Linked DNA regions of Homo sapiens: region 1 is linked to region 2. The links are contacts of gene promoters, found by promoter capture Hi-C in blood cells and fetal thymus (Javierre and others, 2016). All regions are on one chromosome and are shown on one strand. The core of a region is centred on a gene start or on the middle of the fragment in contact, and the rest is flanking DNA. Distances in the headings are between cores, read along the strand shown. Region 1 overlaps EPB41L2 (erythrocyte membrane protein band 4.1 like 2). Region 2 holds the start of EPB41L2 (erythrocyte membrane protein band 4.1 like 2).

Region 1 (4,059 bases), core at 274-2,773, 130 kb before region 2:
AAGAAAAGTGACCAGTAGCCTACAAGATAGCCTGATACAAGAGCTCTGCACAACAACAATCTTTTGCTCTGGGGATGAGGAATAGCAGATAGAATCACGACTTCCCTCAGGGAGATTAAATACAAGACAGACAGTCACACACACACACACACACACACACACACACACACACACATACACGCACAGTCATAAAGTGGTATAAACAGTAGGAAAGACAGCGAGAAGGCAATTAGCAGAAGCCAAAGGTATCACGAGGCCAACCTATATTTGCCAAAGTTATTTTCCACTGGTCCCACTCATCCCATGAGTTATATACACCACTCATTCCCAAAAAGAGCAGCAGAGTGAGACAAGAAAAATTCTCCTTGTTGCATATGATTACTGAGCACCAAAACACCTATTTGTATAACAGACACCCTGAGGAGTCCTGCAATGCAAAAACCCTGTTTCCCATTATTCCTTTCACTTGGGAAACCTGATGTTTCCCAAAACTATTTAGCAAAAGAGCCCACTATTTTTTAATACAACATTTACTAATGTATTCTACAACAGAATTTTTGTTTTAAAGACCACACCTCACTAAATGAGGTAGGAAAGAATTACAGGTTGAGCATCCCAAATCCAAAAACCCAAAATATGAAATGCTCCAAAATCCAAAAGTTTTTTAACGCCAACATTATGCTCAAAGAAAATGCTCATTGGAGCATTTCGGATTTCCAATTTCTTGATTTGGAGTGCTCAAGTATTACAAAATCTGAAAAAACTTGAAATACAAAATATTTCTGGTCCCAAGCATTTCAGATAAAAGATACTCAACCTGTACCACCATCTGACTCTAACGCAGATGTAGACACTGGTATTCACATCTGTTTGATTCAAAAATGCCAAAAGATAATCCAGTTTAAACTGGTCCAAGATTAGATATGCCCAGCTGCCTGGGAGAAGCAAGAAATTCTCATAGACAAAAATCTCAAAAAACATACATTAAAAATCACAAAACGACAAGGAAACCAGACACCATTATTGAGAGACACAGTATCAGAATCAGATCTTCAGAGACTGCACATAGTAGAATTATCAAGAACAAAACACAAAATATATATGTTTTATGTGTTTATAAGAAATATTTTAAAATATGACTAAGGAAAAAGTGAATATGAAAAAGCAGGTTTTGAAAATAATCAAATAAAACACCTAGAAATGAAAACTATAGTAACTAAATTATAATCCAAATGGACAGGATATGACAAAGCTGAAGAGAAAACCAGTGAACTGGAAGATAGATCTGAAAAAAACTATCCAGAATGTGGCTGAGAAAGACAAAGGGAAGGACAATATGAAAGAACTTCACAGACATGGAGAACAGAATGAGGGGTCTACAAATATCTCATCAGAGTCCTAGATGGAGATGAGAGAGAATAAGGGAAAGGCAATATTAAAAGAAACAACGCTATAAAACTTCAAATTAAGAAAGCTCAATGAATCCCTAGCAAAATTAATAAAATTTATTAATCTACAATGATTTTATTCTACTAATTTATTATTTATACTCAACATATAAAAGGTTCTAACACGCATTATTTTTTTAAATAGCTATAATAAAGTCATCAAGACAAGAGGGAATGAAACATAAGCTAGGGAATAAAAAGAAGGACTGAGAAGGAAAATTGTAACAAAAAAACACAGAAAAGTCACTCCTAAGAAACCTAAAACAGATGTGCTTTGGAGGCTTATTCAAAAAGGCAAACAAAATAAGTAGTACATTTCTTCTTATATTCTAAAAAGCATCAGATTATCAGGTGACACATATTAAATGCTACATATGAATGTTCCAAGTTATAACATTTATAGCACTAATGTTCAATCAAACTCGATTGGGTCGGCTCAGACAGCAACACCATCTAGTGGCTCACAACTTTGTCTTCACACTGTTCACAACACATTCCATAAATAATAATTCTCTTTGGGGTGGGGGTGAAGAACCAAGGCACAATGCATAATGGTAGCACATAAAAATGTACAGGGGCATGTAAGTTGAAATTGTTCCTCAAAATAGTTCTTCCTTTCCCCCGAGATTCTGGTATGTTCCATCTTTCTTGAGAATCACCAATTCTTAACAATACGGAAGAAAAGTACTGCAGTATAATCACAGTGTCCTGGGCTTGACCCCCAGCCCTACTCTTAACAGCTCTGTAACCACAGTAAGTTACGTAACTTCTCTATGCCTCAGTTCCGCTCTTTAAAAGTACCCACCTTATAATGGTGATGAGATAATTAAATGAAGTATGTTTAAAGTGATCAATAAAATGTTTGGCTTATTACATGGATTCATTAAAGCCAGCTGAAATTACAAGACCTTTTTGAGCTGCTCTAAAATAATAATTGATTTTAAATATGATTTTAAAGTTTTCCATTATCTAATCAAACTTTCTTATTTCACAAATAAGAAAAATAAGGTTATAGAAAGTTTATCTAATTTTTCAGTCTGATTTCTGAATTTCTTTTAAAATAATTAAATTATTATGTATGCTCTTAATATACACTAATATTCCACACTTCTATCCAGGAAAGTAATTTTCTTCCATTAACATTGCTTTTAAAAAAAAAAAAATCAACAACTTGAATTCTACTGTATAAAAAGGACTACAAATATACATTTGTTAACCAAGCAAAATATACACATAATTTTGCTTCATAACTTTCACCTAAGATACCAGTACACGTAGTTGCTTCATTAGTTGTCACAGCAATTTTGGGGTATTGCCCCAGATAAAGAGAACCACTTACTGACTTATCAAGACATATTCTAATTTTTTTCCTCTGATTTATTTACAAGTGTCAAAACTACCTCTACTTGTATACAAATCTCCAAAATATCCTTCCCTATGAAGCCTGTTCCAATCTCTCAATATTGCATCATTCTCCTTCAAGAGCATTATTCACATCTATGGCACTTATTCTTCTATTCTACTCCTTTTGATACTTATTACTTTCAGATACTGAGTTCTTTAAGAAAGAGGACATCTTACTTCAATGCCTCCTACTGAGTAATTAGCTGACTAGTAGGCCAAAAGATAGCTGCTGATGGAACGGCTCAATGCCATAAGGCCAGTCAAAAAGTTGGCAGAGTTGAGTCTAGAATTCAGGCCTGCTGGTTTCTTACACAATCTTCCTTACCTAGCTGATGGACTACCAACCCATAATGTTCAAGGACCTAAACCAAACACACACTGCCAACTAGTTTCTGGGAGAAGACCAGCACAGACCAACACTTCATTTTCACAATTCTACATTATGCTTATACTCTTCCTTAGTAAACTAGGGCATTTCCAAATACATTTTGGGAACTAGAGGGAAAAAGCCAATCTGCCCCTTCCTCTTAAGAGTAGGCCATACCTCATCTTTATGCAGAAAGGACAGGGGGTTTCCTAGTCTTGCACATTCCTCCACTAAGACATCACTTTCGCTGTCATTTCTTCTTGCTATCTGAAGCATGCCTTTGCTTTGTTTCTGTTCTTACAGTAGAATCTTCATAAAGTACAATCCGAGTCAATCTCTATTCTAATAATATGATATCAAGTTTATTAAACAATAAAAACCATGCAACTGTTAATAAAACTTGCCAAATACACTTCAAAAAGAAATATTTTGAATATAACTTTCTATATTAAATATCAACAAGCTTAGCTATCTATTTTTCGTCTGTCTGCCTCTCCCTAACCCTACTTATACCACTCACTAGCAATATAAAGTTAACGGGTTGAAAACTTTAAAACAATAAACAAAAAAAGCCCTTTGGTCTACTTTCCAGGTATCAGAGTTTTAGTTTTTTTAAAAACCTATATATTATAGATACCCACAAAAGAGAGACAAAACAAGACAATTTGGATGGGCTCAAAATACATTATTCAAAAATTAGAATGCTAGCTTTTGGGAACTTTCATTTAAAAAGAAAAAGAGTAAATGAAATCTACTGCAGATGCAGCCCAAGGAAGGCAGGCTGGAATCTGAGAGGCTGAGCAAAGTCCCCCATGCCTGTGCTGTTATTTGTGGCATTCA
Region 2 (3,875 bases), core at 457-2,956:
CCCCCATCAGTGGCTGCAACAGCCACCCAGTGATTTCTCACAGCAATGAGCCTGCAAAGGGAAACTGAATAGGATTAAGCACTATTCGTTCCCCCACTGAAACCTGTTCAAAGCTTGAGAATTCTAAATCCTAGCCCCTGCAGCATAGAAACTGACTCAGTTTCCCTCAACTGCTAAGTCCAAGGTGAAATCTGACAGAACACCAACTGAAATGCTAATTCTCAACAGCGTTATAAAGAGACCAGATAAATAATGTATTCCGTTGAAAAAAACAATAAAAACGTAGGGTGGGGGAGGAAATAAAGACTGAAAAACTGAGGGGAAAACCGCGAAAGTCGTTTTTTTAAAACAGCTTAAATAACAGTAACAAGAGGAACAAGACGCCTGGCACACACATGCCATTTCAGAGGCAAGAAGTTCAAGAAACTGGGGAAAGATGTGATTCAGAAAAGCGAAAATATAGCCACAGCTCCTCTAGATTCCACCTTCTCTCCCATCCACCCAGGGATCTTAAAATTAAGGGCAGCTGTGGTGTTGATGGGGCAATTCAATGAAAGACTACCCGGGTCCGTAGGGAGGGCTCCATACGCAGACCCCTCCCCAAAATAATAGACTCTAGGCAGTAGTTCTTCTCACCAAACCTCATTTTATTTATACATATATATAAAAAAAAAAACTTGACCTCAGGGGAGGTGAGCGATCTAGAGAAGCATAACTGATGTCCCACCACAGACCTCAGGCTGCTGGGGGCAGCGTCTGCGCCTGGGGATGGCGTCCCCAGACGCCGACTTCAACCCTGTCGCGCTCCTTTAGGTTCTCCTCGCCCTTCCCCGCTGCTCACCTAAAAATGCTCCCAACCCTCGGCCCCCAGGCGCAGGAGGAGAAAAAACAAGCCATCTGTGGTGAGATGGCCTGGGTGTGGGAATTGTAAGGATCGGAGCACGAAACACGCGTCCCTCTCCGCAGCTCCCAGACGGCGCAGGCGGCAGCTGGGGGCGCGGACGCGAGCCTACAGCGGGCCCGACCCGCACCGCGCGTGGGGCTGGCGCGCCGCCCTCGCCCGGCTTCCCGCAGTCCCCACGCGCGCGGCCGGCCCGCGCTTCCCCTCCTAAAACCTTCCTCCTGAAGGGCGACGCCGCGGCCGACCCCCTCCCCGCGGGGGGGATGGAGCCGGATTTTTCCCGCTGTTGCTCCACGGGGCCCGGACGCGTGACCTGAGCCCACGGCACCCCGGGGGGGACGGCGTCCTCCCCGTGCCCCCGCCTTTCCTGGCTCCGCCGGGACGCGGCCCCGGTCCCCCGGAAGAGGGAAGAGGGGGACCGCGGGGAGCAGCGAAGCCGGGATCCGGCCCGGAGCAACAGGACCCGGACCCCCGGGCAAGAATCGGGTCGGGCAGAGACCGGGAAGGAAAGGAGAGAGGGAGCCGCAGAAAATCCCAAAGCCGGGCCCCCTCTCCCCGCCCCCCATCCCGGTGGGACCGTCCCGCCACCGCTTCCTGCCCGGAATCAGCTTCCCAGCTGCAGCCAGAGGAAAAATCTGAGCCGCCCCTGCAACCCCACACTGACCAGTCGCCCGGCCCGTGCAGCCCCGCACGCCTCCTTACCCCGACGCCGTACCTCAGGAGCTCGCTCGCCGCGGGACCCGTCCCTCTTCAGTCCCAGCCGCCGGCAGCCGCGCCTGCCTCCTCCCTCCGCTAGGTTTCAAATTGAAATTCCCTGACTGGGGCCGTCAGAGGACTCTGAGGGCCGGCCCCGCCCCCTCGCGGCGGAAGCCCCTCCCGCGACCCCGCCGGACGAGCCCCCGGCGCGGAAACCCCCGCGGGCGGTCCCGCCCCCGACGCCCAGGCCCCGCCCCTGCGCGGGCGGGGGACCTTTCCCGCGGGATTCGGCAAGCGCGGCCGCGGAGACCCGGGGGTGGAGGACGTCTTTCGCCCTCAGGGCAGCCCGGATGACAGCTAATGCGCCTGGGCAAGGCGTTCTCAACTGCGATTCCCGGCCTTAAATGTCCTCTCAACTTTTAAAAGTTATTTATTCAAAGTGCATTTGCTGACTAAACCTTCACTGAGCGCCTTCCTAGAGGTAAACACTGGAGCAGAGCCTGGAGATGCAGAATAAGGAAAACTGGGTCTCCCTCAGTCTAGAGTGGAAAAAGTGCTTTCACAGGAAGGGCATTGAAAAGGAACCATTTATTCTTCCTGTGGGAGGGACAGGAGGGGTTGGGGAAACCCCGTGGAGGAAAGGCCTCCCCAGAGTAAGTAGGATTTCTCTGGGCAGAGGCCTGGGAATCTGGATTGCAGAGCATGACCACGGGTGAAGAAGAGTCTGGAAAAAACCTAGTTTGGGGCTAAATTGTGGAAAGCCACAAGCACACACACGCTACCCTTCTGGTTCTTTTCTTTTGTACAATGAGGTCAATATGTTTCAGATTCAATATATTTCATCTTTTGAAGGTTTGCACGTCAAGCTGGTGTCAAACAACGTGTCCAGCTCACTGCCTCCAGCATCTGCCTCACACGCACCTCTTATCCCTTTTACTCCTCCCACTTTTATTGAGGTCTTTAGTGATTCCACCACAGCCAAAGTCGTCTCCCTTTCTTTCCTAAACAGAACCTTTTCCAAAATTAACAATGTCAAATGAAACCTCAGTAACAATACCTTCCAGTTAACAAAATACATTCACATATTTTATCATCATTTGATCCTCACAATCACCCTATGAAAAAGGCAGGCACGTTTGAGCTCCATTACATCAAAAAGATTTGGGAAGATAAATTATTTGCCAAGGTCCTTCTAGTAAATAATACAAATAATAATAGTTAAGGTTGATTGTGTGCTTTATGTGCTAGGCATTGTTCTAAGTCCCTTACATGTATTAATTTAATCACAATCCCATATGCTAAGTATACAAGTTAAATTTTATAAGGTGTGCTAAAACAGAGCAGAAATCTGATTAGACAGCAATTCTGGTAAAGGAGACCTGGGAATTTAATGAGAAAATACTATTATTTTCTCATAATAAGAAATATGCAGCAGATTTACAACGAAACTAATGAAACAAACTTCGGGATCTCTCATTTTCACAAGCCTTGAAACTAACTTTATAATTTTGTATTTCATTTTGTGTTTTTTAAAGAGTCCCTAAAGTCATATAAGCTTTTGGGCCCATAAAACATTGAACCACCCTGATGGAGCCCCCTTTAAAATGCTAGTGCAAAATAACATAAATATAGGCATAGTTAATAAAATATAATGCCCTTCTCATAAGAAAGGATATGCTTACTATACTCTGCGTTGAAGTACATGAATCACTCCTATATGCCACCTCTTAAGAAGAAATTTTTCCCTCCAAAAGAAAATATTGATAAGCTAAATTATAACCATAAATGGGTGACCTTGAAAATGTGGGAACCAGCAAGATTTAGCCTAAAGAGATGATTAAAGGTGATAAAAAGGTTGTCAAATGTATAAAGGCTATTGTGTGAAAGAAGAATTGAACTCTGTTTTTGGACACAGCCTTACATAGCCCTGGCATTTTAATGGAATGGAACAGATTCAGTGAGGACCTAGCAGGAACTGAGGGCAGAAAAATCAAGTCCCAGAAGCTATAAGGAAGTGAAGAAAACTGATGGAAGTGGCATCATAGAGATTTAGCAAACAACAGGTGGTAGTCCAGACAACCAGGGAAGTCTAACAAGAAGAGAAGAGGGGTTTGAACAGAAAGAAGGACAAAGTCCTGGAATAGGTGACATCCAAAGACTCAGGCAGGCGGAAGCACTGTCAGGACTACCAGGCTGCAGTTCAAGGGCAGAATGTTAATCCCCAGGAAAACACTCTAGGTAGAACAAGATTGGGTCTTCCTGCTAGACACACTGTAGT

What was found. The method cuts DNA at HindIII sites, captures the fragments that hold promoters and counts their contacts. A CHiCAGO score of 5 or more calls a contact.
Region 1: a fragment that was not itself captured here is called in contact with the fragment with the promoter of EPB41L2 in region 2 in 3 of 17 cell types (M2 macrophages, endothelial precursors and M1 macrophages); the score reaches 7.1 in M2 macrophages.

What each region holds. Positions count from the first base shown.
Region 1 is chr6:130,929,723-130,933,781 of GRCh38, forward strand. The region is part of intron 3 of EPB41L2 (erythrocyte membrane protein band 4.1 like 2); the gene reads right to left. Among named protein-coding and RNA genes, the nearest start is that of SMLR1, 100 kb to the left of the region's middle. RefSeq lists an enhancer at 1,766-1,935. The HindIII fragment of the contact is 4,313 bases long and covers 1-3,680 here.
Region 2 is chr6:131,061,539-131,065,413 of GRCh38, forward strand. EPB41L2 (erythrocyte membrane protein band 4.1 like 2) reads right to left here and starts at 1,707. Exons shown (of 20, transcript NM_001431.4): 1 at 1,617-1,707. It overlaps LOC105378004 (a long non-coding RNA gene), which reads left to right and starts at 1,865. Exons shown (of 3, transcript XR_942993.3): 1 at 1,865-2,078. RefSeq lists silencers at 1,164-1,263, 1,604-1,943. The HindIII fragment of the contact is 3,039 bases long and covers 112-3,150 here.